Regions from separate parts of the Homo sapiens genome. Here regions 1, 3, 4, 5, 6 and 7 are each linked to region 2. Evidence: promoter capture Hi-C in 16 types of primary human blood cells and fetal thymus (Javierre and others, 2016). All regions are on one chromosome and are shown on one strand. Each heading gives the region's core, a stretch centred on a gene start or on the middle of the fragment in contact. The rest is flanking DNA. Distances are from core to core; before and after follow the strand shown. Region 1 has its middle 370 kb from the start of PRR16. Region 2 holds the start of SRFBP1 (serum response factor binding protein 1). Region 3 overlaps CSNK1G3 (casein kinase 1 gamma 3). Region 4 has its middle 110 kb from the start of CSNK1G3. Region 5 has its middle 39 kb from the start of CEP120. Region 6 has its middle 7.1 kb from the start of PRR16. Region 7 overlaps CSNK1G3 (casein kinase 1 gamma 3).

The links. Contacts are between HindIII fragments. The CHiCAGO score rates a contact against its expected background, and 5 or more counts as called.
Region 1: a contact is called between a fragment that was not itself captured here and the fragment with the promoter of SRFBP1 in region 2, in 1 of 17 cell types (naive B cells). The highest score is 6.3, in naive B cells.
Region 3: a fragment that was not itself captured here is called in contact with the fragment with the promoter of SRFBP1 in region 2 in 4 of 17 cell types (naive CD8 T cells, non-activated CD4 T cells, total CD8 T cells and 1 more); the score reaches 9.7 in naive CD8 T cells.
Region 4: a contact is called between a fragment that was not itself captured here and the fragment with the promoter of SRFBP1 in region 2, in 1 of 17 cell types (total CD4 T cells). The highest score is 5.1, in total CD4 T cells.
Region 5: a contact is called between a fragment that was not itself captured here and the fragment with the promoter of SRFBP1 in region 2, in 1 of 17 cell types (total CD4 T cells). The highest score is 6.2, in total CD4 T cells.
Region 6: a contact is called between a fragment that was not itself captured here and the fragment with the promoter of SRFBP1 in region 2, in 2 of 17 cell types (total B cells and naive B cells). The highest score is 6.2, in total B cells.
Region 7: a contact is called between a fragment that was not itself captured here and the fragment with the promoter of SRFBP1 in region 2, in 3 of 17 cell types (non-activated CD4 T cells, total CD4 T cells and naive CD8 T cells). The highest score is 9.7, in non-activated CD4 T cells.

The regions. Positions count from the first base shown.
Region 1 is chr5:120,096,856-120,100,552 of GRCh38, reverse strand. No RefSeq gene overlaps it. Among named protein-coding and RNA genes, the nearest start is that of PRR16, 370 kb to the left of the region's middle. The HindIII fragment of the contact is 698 bases long and covers 992-1,689 here.
Region 2 is chr5:121,960,436-121,963,672 of GRCh38, reverse strand. It overlaps SRFBP1 (serum response factor binding protein 1), which reads right to left and starts at 1,698. Exons shown (of 8, transcript NM_152546.3): 1 at 1,605-1,698. The coding sequence starts at 1,640. RefSeq lists enhancers at 1,713-1,762, 1,507-2,045. The HindIII fragment of the contact is 3,156 bases long and covers 322-3,237 here.
Region 3 is chr5:123,588,589-123,591,845 of GRCh38, reverse strand. It overlaps CSNK1G3 (casein kinase 1 gamma 3), which reads right to left. Exons shown (of 14, transcript NM_001364140.2): 9 at 1,288-1,436; 10 at 432-527. Among named protein-coding and RNA genes, the nearest start is that of CSNK1G3, 78 kb to the right of the region's middle. The HindIII fragment of the contact is 1,212 bases long and covers 1,362-2,573 here.
Region 4 is chr5:123,621,730-123,624,991 of GRCh38, reverse strand. No RefSeq gene overlaps it. Among named protein-coding and RNA genes, the nearest start is that of CSNK1G3, 110 kb to the right of the region's middle. The HindIII fragment of the contact is 3,284 bases long and covers 154-3,262 here.
Region 5 is chr5:123,461,035-123,464,322 of GRCh38, reverse strand. No RefSeq gene overlaps it. Among named protein-coding and RNA genes, the nearest start is that of CEP120, 39 kb to the right of the region's middle. The HindIII fragment of the contact is 3,654 bases long and covers 1-3,288 here.
Region 6 is chr5:120,455,548-120,458,849 of GRCh38, reverse strand. No RefSeq gene overlaps it. Among named protein-coding and RNA genes, the nearest start is that of PRR16, 7.1 kb to the left of the region's middle. RefSeq lists an enhancer at 421-990. The HindIII fragment of the contact is 5,893 bases long and covers 1-3,302 here.
Region 7 is chr5:123,604,697-123,607,997 of GRCh38, reverse strand. It overlaps CSNK1G3 (casein kinase 1 gamma 3), which reads right to left. Exons shown (of 14, transcript NM_001364140.2): 12 at 3,168-3,274; 13 at 2,636-2,659. Among named protein-coding and RNA genes, the nearest start is that of CSNK1G3, 94 kb to the right of the region's middle. The HindIII fragment of the contact is 789 bases long and covers 1,508-2,296 here.

The DNA.
Region 1 (3,697 bases), core at 91-2,590, 1.9 Mb after region 2:
TTAGCGCAGCTATTATGGAAAACAGTACGAAAGTTCCTTTAAAAAAAAAACTAAAAATTTAACTACTATATGATCCAGCAATCCCAATACTGGGAATAAATCCAAAACAAAGAAAATCAATATGTCAAAGAAATATCTGCACTTCTATGTTTATTGAAGCACTATTCACAATAGTTAAGATGTGGAATCAGCCTAAGTATACATCAACAGATGAATAAAGAAAAGGTGACATATATTAACAATAGAATACAATTTAGTGATTAAAAAAAAACTTGTCATTCTCAGCAACATGGATGAGCTTGGAGAACACTATGTTAAGTGAAATAAACCAGGCATTGAAACATAAATACTATATGTTCTCACTTATTTGTGAAAGTTAAAATAGTTGATCTCACAGAAGTAGGGGCTAAAACAGTTATTAGTAGATGCTGGGAAGGGTAGGGGTTTGGGTTATAAGACTTACGAGATTCCTAAGCAAAGCAGTGGCTATAGAGGGAAAGAGAGAAAAGAGAAGGAGCAGTGGCTATAGAGGGAAAGAGAGAAAAGAGAAGGAGCAGTGGCTATAGAGGGAAAGAGAGAAAAGAGAAGGAGAAAGAGAGAAGAGAGAGTGAGAATACACAATGACAAAAATGAAAAACTGAGAATTTGAGCAGTTTAAAGTTGCAGACCAGTCATAACATAGAATAAATTGTTAGGTTTTTCAATTAAAAAAATACAATTTAGGATAAATTATAGGTAAGAAGGGAGAAAGTTGTACATGAAATTCCCTGAGCAGTTATGAAGCACAGATATTTGACAAGGGAGAATTGCACTTTCAGAATATGACACTACGATTCTAAGAAAATTCTTAGAAAATCTCACATTGGCTGTCATCCCAATATATACAGAATTTTTGAGTTTTATATCAATTCCACAGATATTTATGGTGTGTCTACTAAATAAAAGCAGAAAATTGTGCTGAGTGAAATATCAGGTTTATACCTAGGAAGCTTACACATTAGCAAAATAAATGAGATATTCCCAGATAGCTATCCTTTAATTCAATATGTGAAAAGTGACAAACGAATTAAGTGCCAGAGGGAAGATAGATTCCTTTTAATTCAGTATGACTTAAGTTTAACTTTTTTAAAAAGGTATCGACTAAACTACAAAAGATTCCACAGTACCACAGGCTGCAGTCTCAAAGATTGTTATAAGAATCTCGTATCTACCACAGTTCTACCTTCCTCTTTTTAGGCTTCCCTTGTGGATAGAATGTTCACTTGTGATAGCTCCCAGCTTATGTCTTCTTTGATTAAATTCCAAAAGAAAACAAAACAAAAATCTCTTCCCCAAAAGTTCTAACTAGCATTCTGGACCTGATTCTTATTTGTCTCAGCTAAGTTATATGTTTATCTGTGAAGCAATCATTACGGCTGGATGAAGGGCTGGGGAGCGTGGAGTGTGTAGACTGGCTTAAGTATATGTCATCTGTATGTGAGCTGAAGACAGTGGAGGAATGGTTTCAAAGGAATATCAAGTTACTGTTATGAGAAGAAGGGAAAATAAATGCTAAACAGGGAGACAGAATGTATATATAGAATGTATTTGCAACCAATCACAAAAAAGCCAATTAATAGTGGCTTATGCCATAAAGTATTTATTATTTTCTTAAGAAGTCCAGAACTAAGCATTTCCAAGTGTTAAGCTTTTAGCATTTTTCTACTCAACCACCCTCAGTATGTTGACATTTTTCCTATGGCTTCATATTCTCATACATCCACACAATAAATTCCTCCTCATGCAGCTTTCTCAGTGAGAAAAATGTATTCCAAAAGTACTCAGCACAAATTTGACTACATCTCTATGGCCAAAACTAGGTCATATGTCACAAGAGAGACTAGGTTGCCATTGTCACAGGAGACCAATCATGATTTAAGACTCTGCATTGGGCGTTTTGCAGTTCTAACTCAATTGTGGTATTAGCAAAGAAAAAGAGGTAACGGCTACCAGATAGACAGCCAATAAAATCTGCCAGATGTTCAGAAAGGCAAAATTAACCTGGAAGTGGTGTGCGGAATGGATGAAGGGGATAAGTTATAAGGGGCAGTGCTGGAGAACATACGGAGGAAGGGCATCAACCAGAGCATTGATGGTGAGAAACTCTCTAATATTTGTGTAAATGTAAACTTGGAGGACATAAACCACCATTCAATGTGAAGTTATTTTTAAACATTAGAAAGAAATGGAGATCCTACTTGGCTTTCACTATGCACCACCAGATTGTTTAATTGCTTTAATTTGCTCATATCCACATGAGATTACTTAAAATTGTCTAATGTGCCTCTCATTTAATTTCTATTGAATACTTTTAAACCTCCTTCTTATACTCCTAACAAACCCCTTTGGCTTCTCTCTCTGGCAAAGGCAGTGTGCAAAAGCAGTTTTAATGCCATCTTTTACATATTAAAATTTTTTCACTTCCACCAACTTAATTCAACGTTCAGCATTTGGCCTTTTGTTCTTTAGTTATTTTTTTCTGCTTGAGTTTTCAATTCTTCCTTAAAAAGAAATTAATACCAATTGAGCAATATGACAATTAAAAGCAGAAAATGACTAACAAAGGCAAAAACACTGTCATAAACAATATTACTACTTAGGGGTGTTTTTATTTTCTAAGAATAGGAAAATAAGCTCTGAAAAATTTTAGAATATTAATTTAAATTTGAATTATCTCACAAAGATTGACTAACAAAATATAATCATTTCTTTTACTATATGATTTTATATATAATCAAGATATATTTATATGACTTTAATATATTTATTTAATGTTTTCTTTCTAGGAATTAAAATAATACTATGTCCCAAGTTTCTGCATTGGTAAATTTTTCTGCCAAAAAATTCAAAAAGAAAATGTAGAGTAAGATGTGCTTTAATGAGCCACGTCTAGCTATATGTTAGGTTGAAATATTTGTCTTTTTTAAAGCAGTATGAATGCACAATAGAGGGTTTTATACATTGTTATCAACAAATTGAGAAACCAAAGCTTTAATCGAGTTAGCGTTTCCCAACTCCAGTAAAAAATATACAAACATGTACATAATATACAAATTAAAACTGTTTGAGGCACAAAGTAATAACCTATTACTAAATACAGAGCACAGAGGTTAAATATCAAACATTTACTGAAGGTTAAAGAGACATCTTTTGTCTATTTTTTCCTAGGTTGACAAAATACTCAATCTGCTAGCTCATATTATGAAAACAGCCAAACGAAAATTCATCAGAAAAACTGAATACTTACCAAGCCAAACTAATTATGTACACAAATATATTGATTCTTCTGGCGTACTGTATCTAAGCAACTAAGCATTACTGAAGTTGTTTATGTTGTGCATCTTCAAACAAAGTTACTTACTGGCCTAACTCATTTCCCATCAGAATTCACAAACCATTTCTTTGCACCAACTACAAAGTAAGGTAGAAGCACAATTAAAGCCATCAGCCATGTAATCTTCCAAGATCACAGGAAAAGATAAAGAACTCTTACTACTGGACTTAAATGTCAAAAGACAAATCCTCTTGTCTTTACTACAAGAAATAAAAGAACAAAAAAAGTGCATTGTATTAACATATAACACTGTTTTTCTTAGTTTAAAATAATCAAATTCTATTTTGTAAAAGTAAATACAATAAAAAATAAATAGAAGGGCAA
Region 2 (3,237 bases), core at 449-2,948:
AACAGTTACATAAGTGTTTCCAGAGGAGAAAGCAATCTGGGTGCACAAAGAACAGACACCTAACCCAGACCGAGAGGAGTTAATGAAGGTTTCCTAAAGGTCAAATTTTAACTGTTTTGAAGAAGAACAAAAGTTAGCTAAGTGTGAAAAGAGTCTTTAATGACTCATCCCCTGTCATTTCCATCATCAAAGTCATTACAAAATTTGATATGAAGCTCCCTGGGGTTGAAATCCCAGGGACATTACTCTGATCTTTCATACATCACAGGTAACCTAATGCAAAATAGCCCACCAAACGCTTTCTGGCACAAAGCACAAGCTTAATGTATGTTTATGAGTAAATAGTAACTACTTTCAGCTTCCCTCTTCAGCATATCCTGTACTCCACTGTCAACTGAAATCCTGACTCGTTAATCTGGCAGCAGAGAATATATTTCAGTTTTATTTCCTTCTTCATCTCACAAGTTCCCATCAGTGAAGAGTTACTTATCCCTGTATTACCCACGGGTTCTTCTGCTACTAGCCCTTTCCTGCTTATACCAGTCCCTCTGCCTGGAATGACTTCTTCCCCTTTCCTGAATCACTGACTGCAATTCCTGTGCAAGATCCCTAAAGACCAAGGACAAGTATCACCCATTTCATTTTGCCGCCTTTGGAAACTTTTCTGCATTACTAGGTTTTGGAGGCATTCTTCACACATTGTTCTGTAACACAGGTGAGTGTTGCTTAGCTCTCTTACTTGAGTATAGGTTACTAGAAAATATGAAATATCCCTTACACTACTGTGTGTAATCTAAACAGTGACTTGCTCATAAACGGGATAAAGAATTTCCTTTCTGTATCTAACTGTGAGGTCCTTACTCGATCCTTATGTTTCCAGCTTACTTTAAGACTTTGGATGACATTATTTTGTTGAATAGAAGCAGAAACCAGAGGGGGATAAGTGGTAGAAATGGTATTTTGTCGACACCGCACACTATGGAAGTGACGGTGGTGAGAACAAATGTCTGATGAGAATGGACTGAAAAAGCAGAAAAAAGAATTGAGGATAGCAAGTATAAACAGCTCTTTATTGAAGTTCTGCTGTAAACGGAAGCAAAGAAATAGGACACTAACTGGAAGAGGAAACGAAGTACTGAGCATACAGTCTCATTCAAGACCACCAATTTCTTAGAAGCTACAGCTCTTACTTTCTCTCTTTCATTTTCGACAGGCAATAAAGAGCAGGTAATGTGTACTGAAAGTTTATTAAGGGTCAGGCACTTGCAAATACTTTACGTATCTCAGTTAATCTCACAACCCTGGGACGAACTATCTTGAGTTCCGCTTTACAGACGAGAATATTGAACGTACAGGCTAAAGGTTCTTCCCAAAGTCCCACAGACATAAATTCGTGGGGCCTGACACATGTCTCTCACTTTAGTCACCTGGAGACCGAAAAGGGAAATTACCGGTTGCCAAACTCCAAGTTGCGGGAAACCCGCCTGGGCCCACCACGAAAGTTCCTCCAACCGCACCCTCTATGCCCGCCTCCGACCACGCGTCTCAAAAGAGCTGGTTTTGAGGACCCTTAAAGTCAGCCCCATAGGTTCCTCGGCGCTCACCTCGTTATTGAGGTTCAGAGTTCCCGGCTGAGCCATGGTAGATGAAGGAATATGATCCGCCGCTGCCTGCACGTGAACCGGTCTCTCAGACCGCGGCTGCGTCGCCACGCCCCTCAACGGAAGCCTCTTCTGTCCAAAACTCATCCGCCTTCTGCTCTAGCTGCCGCCTGGGAACAAGAAACATTGACGCTTGGAAGGGAAAACCGGAACTGAGACAGAACAACTACCGGCGCAGAGGGCTACGCAACGGAATTGCGCGTTCCTATGGAAACCAGACGGGGGCTGGTAGCTGGGCAACGTCTAGTTTTTCAAGATTCGGTTTGTGTGTGTGTGTGTGTGTGTGTGTGTGTGTGTGTGTGTGTGTGTGTGTTCCCTTGGTACACTGCGCTCGCATTGTACCGGCCTTGGTTTTTCTCTCTAATGGCTAGGGGGGCGCTGAACGGCGGTGAAAGAGCTCTTCTGAAATGATCACTTGAATGAACGATTTTTTGCTTCCATTTTTTTAAATCTAGTATTTGTGAAGATTTCTGCTTTTCTAACAAGCACACCTTTTTAAATCCTCGCAGTTTTTTGTTACAACCTGACATTATAGCTGAGGTGCGGACATTTTTTTCCTGCACACTATAGAAGGGTTTAAATTTAGGGAATAAACATTTGAAGCAAAACCAGGATACACATTTGGTACTGCCTGTGGGAATGGCTGTTTATTAGCCGGCAAGCATAGGAGACGTAAGGGAGTGTGTTTGAATTAGGTAATATATAATTGTCAACACCTTCTAGTATTGACCATTAAAATGTGTCAAATGGTGGTCCAAGAGCTTTACATAAATTAGCTCCAAATCTCCACAGAAATCCAACAAGATAGAAATTATTTTCCTTTTATTAATATTATTTTGTTAGAGACCCAGTCTCTCTTTGTCATCCAGGCTGGTGTGCAGTGGCACAGTCATAGCTCACTGCAGCCTCAAACTCTTGGGCTCAAGCCATCCTCTCACCTCAGCCTTCCAAATAACTAGGACTACAGGAGTGAGCCACCCTACTCTGCTCTGAACTATTATTTTACAGATGTGGAAAGTGACTTCAGAGGCACCAAGTGCCTCGCCCAGAGTCACTTGCCTGGGACTGTCCACTGCTACAGGACTTCAAGTCCAGCTACATAATACCTGGGGTACAGTGCAAAATGAAAATCCAGGCCCCTTTATTCAAAATGCAGGAAAAACGTTTCTTCCGGCGGAGGGTGGTGGCTCATGCCTGTAATCCCAGTACTTTAGGAAGCCTAGGCGGGCGGATCACCTGAGGTCGGGAGTTCGAGACCAGCCTGACCAACGTGGAGAAACCCCGTCTCTACTAAAAATACAAAATTAGCCGACCGTGGTGACGCATGCTTGTAATCCCAGCTACTCGGGAGGCTGAGGCAGGAGAATCACTTGAACCTGGGAGGCGGAGGTTGCCGTGAGCCAAGATCACTCCAGACTGGGCAACAAGAGTGAAACTTCGTCTCAAAAAAAAAAAAAAGTTTCTTCCATAGCGTCTCTTGACTCATCATGGTGTTTGTTAATTTACTATTTAATACGATGCTCCCTAAAGCACAGAGACATTAGGTTGTCAGGGCAGACCCTCAAAGGTGCCTGAG
Region 3 (3,257 bases), core at 718-3,217, 1.6 Mb before region 2:
CACTGCTTTTAGACACTGGTGACAAAATCATTCTTAAAGGTTATACAGTCTTCTTTACTTCTGAATTTCTATAATGTGTAGAACAGTAGCTTTACAATAGCAGAAATTCAATAAATAATTTATTGAACTAAACTACAGTTAGAAAGTCCAAGTGTTATTACAATTCATTCTAATAGGGTATCCAAATACTTCCATTCTAACAGAATATCACATATTCCTAAAAGTTTACACTAATTTGTACCATTAATTAAGGATTTATGATTAAACATTTTAATGCTATTATTAAACTAATAAACAGTGAAATTAAGAGAAAATAGATTATCTATTAAAAATATGTATTTTCAATCCTTCAGTCTGTTTTATCTATTGAAGAAAAAAGTGTATGTTTCAATCATGAAAGGAAGGTATTTCATATCTAAAGGGCAGCAAACCTGGTTTTTGGATTGTTGCATCTTATCTCTGTGTTGATGTGCTTCTCTGTTTGATGACAGAGCAGGATCTTGCTGAACTGCACCCACTGGAGTAGGCTACAATACAATAACAATTGGTATCAATACATTCCATTTTAAAATTCTTATTTAAAATCATTTAGCTGCTTAAAAGAATTAAGGAAAAAAACAAAAGACTGTTAAATAAACTAAGGCTTTAAGTAAAGGCATCATTATCAAAATATGTTGTTAAAGCTAAGAAGGTAAAGCAAAAAGAATATACCTACTTTTTAAAGTGTTTTTAAAATATTCAAATTCTTTATAAAGTACTTATTTTTACATCTACAGAACACTTAATGCTGCCATTACTTTTAGGCTACATTTTCATATCAACATGATAAAAATGTATATGTTTATGCCTCTCATTTCCAAAGCAAATGTATACATAGAATAAACTTTTAAGAAAATTAAAAGAATAAAAAAACTAATAAAATTACTTATTTCCAATATTTTGACTTGAAGAGACTCATACAAATTTTAATTTTCATCAAGGGATTGAAGTATTAAATTAATCATGAGAATATTACACAAAAAAGAGTATATTTGACATTAAGAACTAAATCAGGATGAAAAGTTAAAAGTAACTCTTCATGCTAAAAGGCAAAGAATCCAGATGTAGGGCTTCTGAAAAACTCAAAGAACACTAGTACGGCACTACCTGCAGAAATGTCCCTTAAAAAACAATAAAATGAATCCTTTAAAACAACTATTTGTTCTCAACTCTTTTCAATTGAAGATATTGTACTATTAAAAAGGCAACAGATACTGTAAGTAATATATTATTATATAGAATACTCACCAACTGTTTACCAATCCAGTCATATTCATAATCAAACATATATCCTTTTCGATCAAACAAGTCAGTAAAAAGCTTTCTTAAGTAGTCATAGTCTGGTTTTTCAAAAAAATCTAGCCTTCTTACATAACGAAGATATGTTGCCATTTCTTCTAGAAATAATATAAAAATTATTTGGACTATACTTTTCTTTAATACTCAGTAATAAAATTAAGTATCTAAAAGCACATTGTATTATATAAAAACACTTGAAAAGTAACAAAATTACATTGCAATTTAAATTTTTCTGAGTTTAATTACAACAAAATAAAAAAGAGGAAAAGAAGGAAGGGAATAGAGACACAAGAAAAATGGGAGGTTTAGTTTAACAACCACTATTTTTGCTTCATTTCATTAGGAAAAGCTAAAATTTTCATTTTTATAAGATTATTTTTAATATTTGGTAGTATGAGAAGTTGAATAAGCAGTTTAATAATGCATGATTAATCACAAAGCATCATATTCAGTTTATAAATTTAAAATTTTATTTAAAATACCGGTGAGAACTGATTTATATGAAAGCATCTGTATTGGCTTGCTGGATTTCCTTTAGAATCAGTGACATAAACCAACTAACTAATAGAGAATTCAAATTCCTAACCTTGGCTTTGAGCAGTATTCTAACCAATTAAGCTAACAAAGGAAAGCTAAAACAAATCTCAAAAACATAACACAAGAGGACAGTGTAAGTCTTCTCTTAATTTCTGGTCATATATTTAACAATTATTTGGCGATATACAAATCTCTGCATGCTATTATAATTCCAAAATGTATTAGATACATGTATCTAATACATGCAAAAACAAACAAACAGACAAACAAATATATAAATATAAAACAATGGGCAAAATGGTGAGCAATTAGTAAAGCAGGGCATTTCACCATCAGGGCACAGAAAATCACTACAGTAAGAGATGGTAAGTTACACCTAGCATTCACAGGCAGCCCCAGCCAACAGGAAAAAGATCACACCCAGCACAATGAGGCAACAAAAGTGGTGTGCAGTGACCTTCTTTAGGTGGTGACTCTCCCACTATTCCACTTTCTAGCTAAATACCTGGCTAATTTGATTTGGCAACCCCATTTTTCCCACCTTTATATAGGCTTCCTTAATGACAACTACCCTATCTGCCTACACTAAACTGCTAGTACTATTAACCGACATTTTAAAAAATCTACTTCTAGATATTATAGCAAGAAAGGAAAATATATAATTAAAGTTTGCTGTCAATGAATAATATAAACAAGCTTGAGAAAGAGCTACTTTTGTTATGTTGATAATATTATTATTACATTAATAACGCCAGCATTATACAGGAGAACTACGGAATACTAAAGTGAGATAGGAATTCCGTATTTTATCTTCAAATTTAGCTCTCTTTTCACTTAATGTGGCTGCACAAATAAATCACAGTCATTATCTTAATATACTAACAAGTTATTCTTATTCCTTAATTGATGTAGAAATCTTAAGTAAATTTTTTTTGGCTTAATTTGAGTTGCCATAAATCTACTTGAAAGCAAAATTATTTTCATAAATGCATACAGCTCCCCAATATAAAATTAGCCCCAAACTAGTGAGGTCAGTAAGGTTTTACTGGCCTTACTTAATTTAAGTTTAATTTGAAAACTAAACCAAATCATACTTCACATACCTCCTTTGAACTTGACATTGAGACCCAAATGACTAACACTGAATACCAAAACTTTGTAACTGGCATTTCTTAGCAAAAATTTTAACTCATTAAAAGTATATCACTAAAGAAAATATTACTTCAGCTGGTAATGATCAACACTATTAACAGACAGGATTTTCTTCTATTAATACCATTTGCAAAGCAAATACACAAAGTGTCCCTGTGGGTTCGGCATCAAATGCTGACAACCTTTAAATCATATTTTTAGCTCTTTTTTTTTTAAGCATAGAAAAAAAT
Region 4 (3,262 bases), core at 546-3,045, 1.7 Mb before region 2:
TAAAAAGTCCTCTTCTGCCATCTTGCTTTGCCTTTTTCCATTCTTCTCCATTTTTATTTTTAACGTGAATAAAAGAGACATAATCTACTCTGCCAAACTGGTCCTCTTGCAGAATAAAGACTCAGCAGAAGGATAGTCTTGAGCATTAAAGCTTACCAGTCCAGGTACCAGAGCTTGTTTAATACATTTGGATGGAGATCTCTCTATATCTTTAGGACATAGTATACAGAATACAGAGTGTATAGTTTTCTGATTTCCTAAGCACTCCATACTAAGTTTAATATTTCACATTATTTAGGGCAATGCTTTTCAAGCATTTTTAAAAAGAAGAACCCATTTTTGAAACATTTTTCCTGGAATCTTAGTGTAACAGAAGGAAAGAGAGGGTAACAGTAATAACGTAGCAGAAAAAAGTGTAATAAATTGACTATTTAGAAAGGTGCAGCAGGGTTAAAAGAAGTCAAAAAGGCTGATTATATTCCTGGGTGTGGTATTTCACTGGAAAAAGCTGCTGTTGACCAACAGACTTTCTAAAGCCTGGTTATTGGAGCAAGGCACTTGCTGATCAGCTGTTGTCTAGAAGCATGGGGCTGTCATTAACTTGCTTACTTTCAGAAGACTAGAATGAAGCTGTTGTTGACTAGCTTATTTTCAGAAGCATGGCCAATGGATGATGTCATTGATTGATTTTTTTTGTATATTTATTAAAGTTATCTTAAATTAACAGTGGTTACTTGTTCACAACTTCAGGCTTTGGCTAAAATTCAAATAGCCTTTTTCTTTCTTGAATATGAAATGTAAGTACTTTCAAGTCTTACTCCCCACTTTTGGTATTCATTGAAACCTGTAGGAGAGATAAGGGATTGTTCAGATGTTTATTTGTGGAGGAATAATTTTCAGCTGCTGTTACCACATAAGTAATTTAAGCATTCCACATTACTGTGGAGTAAAAATAGCTCTAATTGCCAATATTCTTGCAATTTATCAAAAAAAAAAAGCCTAATAAATACAGGACATTTAGGGCACCTGACAAAGTCAATAAAGGATTCAGGACAAAATACTGTACAAGGAAGACATGATTGATTTTCTACCTATATGACATTTAAAATGAGATTTTCATTTCCAAGACTTAATTTAAGATGGCTAGAATGTAATGGTATAAGAATAATTGACATGTTTAAATGATTTTTTTGCAATGAGGATGAAGGTGAAAATAGAAGATAAAAATCATGAAAGGGATTGTTATATATACCATCTACCATCTGGTTAGAGATGACCAAATGATTCACTCCAGAAAACTGAGCAGGAAGTTTGAAAACAATACCAAGAAGTCTTCACACTAATGCACATACAAGACTATGATCAAGAAGACTTACAAACAAATCAGGGTAGTGTAAGTAAGACATAGAAATCGTTGACATGGTATGATGAGGTTTCTGACTGGAATACACACTTATGAGAAGGAAGGGGCAGAGGAGTATACTGAGAGGATGTATACTTGCAATGAAATTTAGTACACCCAAGGTAAATGCACTGTGGAAAATATTTGAGCAAAGAGAGGGGAAATTAAGATACCATTATGAAAGTACATTACAAAAGGCCAGGCCAGTTAAAGAAAATCAGTATTTAAGCACACAAGTCACTGCCTGACACAAGGTGTTCAAGAGGAGCATAAAATACTAAACATAAAATTGAGTAGTGATAGAGGCCCCCAATTGTCTGGAAATTTCTAATTCTTATTTTACTTCAGCTAGGGTTTCTGATGTTCTCTTTTGTGGGAGCTAAAAATCAATACAATGTATCTCATGGAGATAAAGAGTTGAAGGATGGTTATGAGGCTTTGAAGGGTAGCGGGGAGGGGGGTGGTGTGGGATAAACTGGGGATGGTATTATGGGCACAAAATATAGTTAGATAGAGCTGGGTATGGCGGCTCACACCTGTAATCTCAGCACTTTGGGAGGCTAAGGCAGGCGGATCACTTAAGATCAGGAGTTCGAGACCAGCCTGGCCAATATGGTGAAACCCCATCTCTACGAAAAATACAAAAATTAGCCAGGTATGGTGGTGCACACCTGTAGTCTCAGCTACTCAGTTAAACCAGAGGTTAGCTGAGATCGTGCCACTGCACTCCAGCCTGGGAGACAGAGCTAGACTCTGTCTCAAATTAATGTATGTGTATATATACACACATATACACACACGTGTATATATACACACATATACACACGTGTATATATACACACATACACACGTGTATATATACACACATATACACACACGTGTATATATACACACATACACACGTGTATATATACACACATATACACACACGTGTATATATACACATATACACACATGTGTATATATACATATACACACGTGTATATATACACACATACACATATATACACGTGTATATATACACGTATATACACGTGTATATATACACATATATACACGTGTATATACACATATGTGTATGTATACACGTATATACACATATGTGTATGTATACACATATATATACACACACACATATATACAGTTAGATCTAATGAATAAGATCTAGTATTTGGTAGCACAATGTGGCTATAGTCAACAATAATTTATTACATATTTTAAAACAACTAAGAATGAAATTGGAATGTTCCTGACACAAATGACAAATGCTTGAAGTGCTGGATAACTTAATTACCCTGATGTCATTATTACACATTGTATGCCTGTATCAAAACATCACATGTGCCCCATATAGATACCTATCATGTACTTGTAATAACTAAAAACAAAAACAAAAAAACTTTAAACCCAGAAATTCTGTAAATTCTTTATATGCCTAAAATCTAATCTTCCAGGAAATAGAGAAAGCAAAAATTGAAGCTACTATTCTGTACCACAAAAATGACCAGCAAGAGGAATTTGTTGATAAAGCAGAAGGGTCAGGCACCTTGAGAGAATGTGAGCATCTCATCTTAAGGTCTATGATACCTTGTGAAAAGAACTCAAGACTCTGATTTCATTTCTGCAATGAAAAGTGATCCTAAAAAGCAAAAACGTTTGAGAAAAGAGTCTCCTAACAAGCTCAGCTTTTAAAAGGGTATAGGAAATAAACGTAAAAAAAAAAGGTAACATCTTTAAGGTTTCATATTAGCTCGAGATTCTTTTTAATGCTAAAGCCAACAAAAAAAGAGCTCTATAATCTGTATGTGGAGCCATATGTAAAGGAAAGGCTGAGGGATGAGGAAGAGAATGTAAGGCTCA
Region 5 (3,288 bases), core at 551-3,050, 1.5 Mb before region 2:
CAATGAAAAGACAACCTATGGAATGGGAGAAAATATTTGGAAACCATGTAACTGATAAGGGATTAATATCCAAAATATCGAAGTTCCTTAACTCAGACAACTCAATAGAAAAAACTCAAGTAACCCAATTTCAGAAGGGGCAAAGGACCCGGATTGACATTTTTTCAAAAGAAGATAGACAAATGCCCAGCAGATCTGTGAAAAAATGCTCAAAATCACTGATCATCAGAGAAATGCATATCAAAATCACAATGAGGTATCACCTCACACCTGTTAGGATGACTACTATGAAAAATAAAAGATATAACAAGTGTCAGTGAGGATATGGAGAAAAGGGAACCCTTGTACATTGTTGGTGGGAATAAAAATTGGTACAGCCATTATGGAAAACAATATGAAGTTTCCTCAAATAATTAAAAATAGAACAAGATATAATCTAGCAATTTTGTTTCTAGATATATATCCGAAGAAAATGAAATCAGTATCTTGAAGAAGTATCTACACCCCTGTGTTCATTGAAGCATTATTCACAGCAGCCAAGAGATGGAAACAACCTAAGTGTCCATCAACAGATAAATGAATAAAGAAATTGTGGGACATATATACATTAGAATGTTATTCAGCCATAAAAGAAGGAAATCCTGGCATTTGCAACAACATAGATAAACCTGCAGAGCATTATGCTAAGTGAAATAAGCCGGACACAGAAAGACAAATTCTATAAGATCTCACTTAAAAGTTGAACTCAGCTGGGCGCGGTGGCTCACGCCTATATTCCCAGCACTTTGGGAGGCCGAGGTGGGTGGATCGCCTGAGGTTAGGAGTTTGAGACCAGCCTGGCCAACATGGTAAACCATCTCTACTAAAAAAAAAAACAACAACAACACAAAAATTAGCTGGGCATGGTGGCGGGTGCCTGTAATCCCAGCTACTCGGGAGGCTGAGGCAGGAGAATCACTTACAACCTGGGTGGCAAAGGTTGCGGTGAGCTGAGATGGGGCCATTGCACTCCAGCCTGGGCAACAGAGCGAGACTGTGTCCCAGAAAGAAAAAAATTGAATTCATATACAAGCAGAAAGTAGAACAGTAGTTGCCAGGGGCTGGGGAGTGGGGAAAATGAGGAGATTGTTGGTCAAAGGGTATAAACCTCCAGCTATAAGATGAACAACTTTTGGAGATCTAATGTACAGCATGAGTGGTGATAGATGTGTTAATAATAATAATAAATAGCTTTATGGGGGGTTTACAAAATAAGCACAGATTAAGAAACTCAAATATTCAAGGCCAAGTTTCATGCTATACTTATACAGGATGATGAACAGTTTGAATTTCAATTCCTCCACAGGAAGAAAGCAGAGACTGAGATTGACCACCAGAGTATATAAGTAGGTTAGGAATTCTGTTTAAAGCTACTGCAAGTGATGCTCACATTTGTTGCCATTAAATTACGGATCTAAAGGGTAGTTAGTGATTCAATATCAGACTCTGCCTGGTGATAATTAGAGAGAAATAACTTTTATAACTGTGTATTATATGTTTTTTCTGGATTCTGAAATGACTTACTTATTCACATACTAAAAAAAAAATCCATCTCAGTGAGAAATAGGCAGATGCCTAGAGCATATAACAATTTTGTGCATACAGGACATTGTGTTAAAAGTGACTAATGACAATTAACAGTTAAAAATAGATACTCACCTAGAACACCTATACAATACACACATTACATTTCTAAAGGGCTTAACAATTAAATGCATTCAATGCTAAAACTACCTGGACCATAATCTCGTATTCGAGACCTTGTAAGCTCTTCATTATGAACATTATTTACTGTAGATATTTGGAAGTGTCACAAGATAGAATGCCTGGGCAGACATGCTTTTGTGTTACATACACTATAAATGTATGGTACAAACTATAAATCAGGTTGACTTCTCATTTTTCAAGTGAGAGTGAATTATCACTTCAGCCTGGTAATTGGTATATTATGTGAGCTAGTTGATTTTTTAAACTTTAAAGGTAGTATGTAATGACACATGCACAAAAATTTATAATATATTTCAGCTTGCCTGAAGTCAAACTTCAGACATTAAACACACGGAATCAATGCACTACTATAAATAGAGAATAGTAGATAGCATTTTATTTGGTCTTTAGAAGATCAGTGTGAAGGAAGTTTGGGCAAAACAGCAAGTGTTTAAACGGAAAACAGTGTGACAGGGATTATGGCAGGGTTGCAGCATTGGCAATTAGCTAATGTCAATGATACACTTAAGAAACACTGTGCAAGACAGCTAATAAATCACAGCCAACCATCATTAATAATCCATGACAGAAGGGAAAAGAGAAAGAAAGGAAAGAGAAGAAAAAGGTAGAGGAGAGTGCTCTGTAGTGGGCTACACAGTAAAAATGAAGTGTGCTATAATTAGAATTATTTCTATTACCAGAGGACCCAGGAAAGGCTTTCTAGTGAACAATTCAACAAATAACCAGGGGGTTGATAAGCATATTGCTAAGTTATGAGTTTTTCACGTCTTCCATTTCATTTTAATTGTGTGCATGTGAGTATGTGTGCCTTTTAAAGTCATGGTACCAGATGACTTTATAATAAAAGGCACACATAGATATAAGGGAGTTAATTTTGACTTCCTACATGTTTCTAAAAATATTATAATTCCAAACAAAAAGGTAGGTAATATATTGCCATATAGTCTCTTTTGGAACTTCTTAACTGGACAATTTGCCAGCAGCAACATATAATAACCACTGGACTCAGAAAATAGTACCCCAAAAGGAAGGCCTCAGAAGCAAAGTTTTTCTCTGATCTGCCCTCCTATCTCTCACTCTCGTTTTCCCCCAAGGCTAGCCAAAGAAATTAGGATCCCTCTTCCCTGAGGTGAGTCATAGAAACCAGAATCCCTTCCCTCAGAGCCAGCTATAAAATCTAAAAATATTATAACTTTCTCACCCTGCTCGTAAAAACTGGCCATATCAGGAGTTCGAGACCAGCCTGGCCAATATGGCAAAACCCTGTCTCTACTAAAAATACAAAAATTAGCTGGGCATAGTGGTGCATATCTGTAATCCCAGCTACTCAGGAGGCTGAGGCAAGAAAATCGCTTGAACCCAGGAGGTGGAGGTTGCAGTGAGCCGAGACCTCACCACTGCACTCCAGCCTGGGTGACAGATGGCAGAGTGAGACTCTGTCTCAAAAAAAAAAAAAAAAAAAAAATAGACTAGTCATAGGGAAATTATCTGACCTACTTTGTTTGAATATAGGTCATAAGA
Region 6 (3,302 bases), core at 30-2,529, 1.5 Mb after region 2:
ATACCTCTGAAAAAATAAAAACTATATATATATATATATATATATATATATCTCCACCATATAGTATTTATATTGGATTATTGTGGGCAGCAAGCCACCCAGGTGCCAAGGTAAGAGACCGAGGGCACAAGCTGTTCCAGTATCATAAAGAAAATATATAGAATAAGAATAGTTATACTAGAAATAGAATATAGATATGATTACATATGAATATTATTAATCATTAATTTGTAGCATTACTCTTTATTCCAATATTATAATAACCTCTGTTCTACAATTATAACCTAGGAAAAACCAGACCATACAGAGATAGGAGCTGAAGGGACACGGTGAGAAGTGACCAGAAGGCAAGAGTATGAGCCCTCTGTCACGCCCAGACAGGGCCACTAGAGGGCTCCTTGGTCTAGCGGTAACGCCAGTGCCTGGGAAGGTGCCAGTTGCCTAGAGGACCTTGGTCCAGCGGTAGCGCCAGTGCCTGGGAAGGCACCCCTTATTTAGCAGACGGGGGAAGGGAGTCTCCCTTTCCCCGGGGGAGTTAGATAAGACTCTGCTCCACCACCTCTTGTGGAAGGCCTGACATCAGTCAAGCCTGCCTGCAGCCATCTGGAGGCCTAAATGTCTCCCTGTGATGCTGTGCTTCAGCGGTCACACTCCTGTTTCACTTTCACGTTCCGCTCTATACACCTGGCTCCGCCTTCTAGATAGCAGTGGCAGAATTAGTGAAAGTGTTAAAGTCTTTGATCTTTCTGAGAAGAGTGTAGAAGAAATAATGACGTAAGCTGTCCTCTCCCCACCTCAGCTACCTAAAAGGGAAAGGCCCCCTGTCCGGTGGACACGTGACTCACGTGACCTTATCAATCGTTGGAGATGACTCACACTGCTTACCCTGCCCCTTTTGCCTTGTATACATAAATAGCAGTGCGGTCAGCCATTCGGGGCCACTACTGGTCTCCGCGCCTTGGTGGTAGTGGTCCCCTAGACCCAGCTGTCTTTTCTTCTATCTCTTTGTCTTGTGTCTTTATTTCTACGATCTCTTGTCTCCGCACATGAAGAGAAAAACCCACAGGCCCTGTAGGGCTAGACCCTACGGATTATATACTTTACTTTTATCTCACAGATGGACATTTTTTAGTTGTTTTTGCTTCCCCAAATTAGCATCTATCAAGTCCTAGATTTGGCATTCAGTTTACCCATGCCAAGAGCCACCAACCCCCTCATCCTTTCCAATCTCAGGCTCAGGTCCCATCTATAAATATCTCACCTCAAACATCCCAGTCCTCTGTTGAACTGCCTACCAAAAGAGCAAGCAATGCTCAAACGATTACTCCATTTCACTCAAGTTTTTAGGAATTACCACTTGTCCAGAAACCCTGAGGCCAGTGCCTAACAGGGTAGTCCCAAACTCATTCTACCTCACAGCTTCAAATTGCTGGATTAAGTGGTAAGAGAACCTAGGACTTTACATATTCCAGGACACTCACAGCCGTGGCCAGGGAGTTGTTCCTAAAATTTGGCCAATTGCCACTCTACACAGCTTAACAGCCCCTTTCCTTGGAAGTGGATTCAGCTAGAACAGAGGACACCTTAATCACTTAGCAGAACTCAATACACGCATGCATCAAGATAATTGAAAGCCCTATACAATCATTCAGATACCCAGATAATTTTGAAGGTACTTGGAGATTTCTGTCCTTATTAAGTTTCAAGGTCCTTTCCCCGCTCCAAGGAAATGAGTAACTGTGATCAAGGATAAAATCACAGAGGACAAATAAGTTGTCAAAAGCTATACCCCATGACCTTCAGATATAAAACCATACTCCATTAGGTGTTAGGTGGTCACCAATACTGTGTGTGACCACATAGAGTATGCAGTTTTAGTTCTTCATCCAGGAACTGGAATGGAATGACTGACATAGATCTGCAGCCTGGCAAGTACGTAAGGGCATTCTGTGTAAGGCTAAAGTGTAAGGCCTTAGACAGCATGCCAATCTGAACTGGTGGACCTTGATAAAATCATTTCGATCTACAATGATGCCACTAATCTATTTAATTGGCATGCTGCTTCCACTATCTACCCCCTCCTTACCACAAGTCGGTGAGCTATGATTTATGCCTCAAGCCTGTCTTCAACTGTATAAAATGATATTGTTATCGATTTGATGTTTGTGTCTCCTCACCAAAATTCCTATGTTGAAGCCCTAACCTCCGATGTGAGAATATTTGGAGATAAGGCCACTGGGAAGTAATGAAGGTTGTATGAAGTGGTGAGGGTGGGGCCTTTAATCTAGGACTAGTAACCTTATAAGAAGAATAAGACCTCTTCCTTTTTTCAACAGTAAAGCAGCAGGTTATAACGGAAACGCGATGGATTGGACATTTTACATTTGAGACTAATGTTCTGCCAACAGCTTTGTAATTTTAGACACTAAAACTCCAATAGCATTTGCTTCTTTATCTGCACACGTGGATATAATACTTATTTATCAAAAATGGGTGGAGAATCAGAAGAGATAATTATGTGAGAATGTTTTATTATCTGTGAATTACTGAACAAACGTTAGCCATGGTTATTCTTTTCGGTGTTTACTTTGATTGATCTTCTGTGTGCATCAAGGAACTTGCTAACTTCACTGTTTAGGATTTGGCTGCTTTCCAGAATTACTTGATTAAGCAAATCCCTCTATAACAGCATTTTTCAAAGTATGTTCCAGCAGTTTCAACTGACATAAAATTTTGGAAACTCTGCCTTCTCTATACCCCACTTTTTGTAATGATGAGGTTAAATATCAGGATATTAAAGTTTGAAAAATCTTACCAGTTTAAATTTAGTCTCCAAATTTATTTTATTTGACAATGGAATCTCCCTTTTTTTGTCTCTCCCTCTCACCCTCCATCCTTCCACTCTTCCTTCCTTTAACCTAACACTTATAAATAGCCTGTTAAAAGAATTTCCATGAAATACATTTTGGTCAATATGGTAATAAAAGTTTATATTAATTACTTTCATCATATTTTGCCTTCACAAATGATTGATTCCGTAAGCCTTGATTATTCTGTATAGAAAGGCTTTGTTGGGAATCGTGTGTGTGTGTGTGTGTGTGTGTGTGTGTGTGTGTGTGTGTGTGTCAATAGTATTTTTATGTCCATGTACATTTTCATATAACAATTTATTTCTGCTATTTTTATTTATGTTGTATTTGTACAGAACTTTACTATTTCTGTAGCATTTTCCAATGTCATAATACAATCTCCCTTGATTCTCAGTATAATCCAATAAACTAGAGCAGGGAACTGCTATTATC
Region 7 (3,301 bases), core at 653-3,152, 1.6 Mb before region 2:
CACAGCAAGATTCCATCTCTTAAAAAAGAAAAAAAATCATGCTCAAATTTCTTAGTCACAGATTAAGAGGGTATGAGGAACACAATAACAAACGTGTAGAAATGTCAGAATAAACCTAAAGAAAAAATCTTGTTTAAATAGAATGTTTAATCAGCAAAGAGGTAGGAAAGTTCTGAGGATTTCTGTAACCTACCTAACCCACCTGAAGTAAGGCTTCACTGATATTATGAGTTGCTATACTTTTTTTAAAACAACCATTTTATTAAGATATTTTTCACGTTATAAACTTTATCCTTTCAAAATATATAATTCAGTGTCTTTTAGTATTCAGAATTGAGCAGCTATCACCACTATCTAATTTTAGAACATTTCCATCACTCCATAAAGAAATCCCATCCTCCTCTTCCCTGCCCTGGGCAATCACTAATCTTTTGATGTCTATGTATTTGCCTATTCTGGACATTTCATTTAAATGGAATCACATAACATGTGGCCTTTTGTGTTTGGCTCCTTTCATTTAGCACAATGTTTTCAATTTCATTTCTTTATATTGTCAAATGGCAGTCCATTGTATGGGTATACCACATTGTTAATTATTTAGTAATGATTTATTAGGACATATAGCCACTAGGAATCTGAGGATGAAAAAATACCTGTTTTCAAGAAATTCAGTAAGTTTCAAGAAGTGGGAAGTACATACAGAGGATAACATAGCAAATGCAGATTTAAGGAACCAATGCTATATAAAGTTCAGAATGGAAAACGGAGCTGCAAAAATAGATGGGCCAGACTATGACAGGTATGAGAAGCCTTGGTGCCATGCCAAGAAATCTGGACATGATGTGGCAGGCAATGGAGAACCCTTCCTATAGCAATAGCCTTCCCACCACTTTCTTCTTTCACATCCTCCAGTGTCTACAGATAGGGACCCAAACACACACCCACACTCATCCCAACTAAATAACTGTGCCATTCTTCAGAGCCACCTCCATCAAGTATTCTCTGATCATCCAGGTCAGGAAGTAATCTTTATCTTTACAAGCTCTAACCATTTTTTAAAATACCTTTTTTATCGTATTAATCACATACTGACATATACTAGTACAACTGCAATCTTCCTGCTGGCTTGTAATCTACTTAAGAACAAGGACAGCATCAGGTATGTCAGAAACCTCAGCAGTGTAACTGCTGAATGAATAAATGGATAAATGTAATAGATTTTATTAAAAGCAAGTCTCCAGGAGGATGTAAACACAGAACAGCCAGTTTCAGTGAAGAGTGTGTGTATGGAAGTAAAAATATAGGACACAGATAAAAGAGGCACAAGCCCAAGAACAGAGATGAGAAACGTCACCAGCAGTTGGAAGAGAAGAAATAAATAGGGGTGATAATAGCTATTGAGTACCTGCCGTGTGCCAGACAAAATACCAGGGCTTTATCACATTTAATTTTCTCAACCTATGAAGTAGGTATTATTAGCTTCATTTTACAGAAAAAGAAACAAGCTTTCTTGAAGGTAACAAATAAGTGGCAGAAACAGGATTCTATAACCTATGTCTAACTGCAAAGGACATGTGCAGTCGAATCTGCCACACCACCACCCTACTTTCCTGTCTTAGGATTGTACCTAAAATTCCCAAACATAAGCTGTTGTTTTTATATTTGATTTAAAAACACACAAGTAAGACTATACTTTCACGGATTTATTTCTGTAGTTCATAAAAATATACAAGTATATAGCTAATTATATCCTGACATACACTAGTCTTAATCTTATGTCAATAAATTCTATAGTCAAAAGTGATTAAAATGGATTCTTAATCACTGCTCTTTAACAAAAAAAAATCCACAAAAGTTTCCTAATTTTGCAGCCAACAAATGAGCATAATTTTGAAAATTATATAAGGTGCCTTTAGATATGAGTAAAATATTTCAAAATTTACTAAACTAAGCAACTTCCTTTATTCACTCCCAGTCTGACTCAAAATTTGTCCTGAAACTGAGAGAAGCATTTTAAGCACAGTATTACAATTAAAGGCAAATGTCAGAAAATAATTTAAATCTAAAATTATTTCTATTAATGTTACTTTCCATAATATCTGCAATTATTAGCAACCATTTAGATGAGGATTTTTAAAATGGCTTTCTCACTACAAGGTTATCATGAAATTTATCAATATTGTACTCAAGGGCAATGATAATTGGTTAGTAAATGAAATACTGTTTTAGTGATACTACTGTGGGGGATGAGATCTGCTACATGTATTTAACAATTGCAAAGAGAAAAAAGAAAGCTTAATGCAAAAATCTATCTTTCTATTTAAATAGCAAATAAAAACTATTATAAAACAAATGCACAAGCACAAGCAGGGTTGGTGTATCATCTATGCAATTAAAAAGTGGCCCCAAATCTATGTCACTTAAAGTAAAAAAGTTGCAGCAGGCAAAAGAGCTCCTCAAACAATTATTTCTTGCTTTTCAGAGCTATCTTAATGATATCAAATACTTTTGAATAACTTTTACCAATTATAATCACTGTGTTGAGAGTTTTGTTTTCAAAAGACACAAAATGATGCTAAATCTTTGAAATTACAGTCAATGGAGCTATTTCTGCCTGCCTACACTTGAGACTCACCACATGTTCAACACTTTCTGGCAGCTATACGCACACACAAAAAAAAAAATACAAGGAAAAAAAAGAGAGAGAGAGAATCAGAAACAGCTCACATTGAAATTATCACATTGTTTTTCATGCTTAATTTTTTCCAAGCAATGTTGTTATAATTTATGTTTTGAAAAAACTAATTCAAAATATTAAAACATGCATTTTATAAAATTAATTTCTTATGCTTACAGAAAAAAGATTGATAGTACATCAATAACTTTCATGCATCAACACTCCTAAAACTCAAAAGCTAAAAATATGTTGTTAATTCCAAATAAGAATTTGAACACAGTTCTTAAATATTTTGTATTATTAAAATGTTTACTGGAATAGCACTATTTTAAACTCATTCTAGTGATTAAAATAATTAAGCATACCACTTGTTTTGCATGCACCTATTCCCTGAAAAAAATTTCCTGAAATAATTGTATGTAACTATAAATCTCAAGCATGCATAATTTAAGAACAAAAAGTTACTAAAACAAGTAAAACAAACACATACTTGGTTTCATCCATCACTTCTACTTCAGTAGGGGCTGTGATGGGTGCATTTGAACGTCCTGCGGTGGGGTCATCTGTGTTTAACTCTCCATTTGTAGAACTTACAACCTGTTTGAAAAAAAAATTTTTTATATA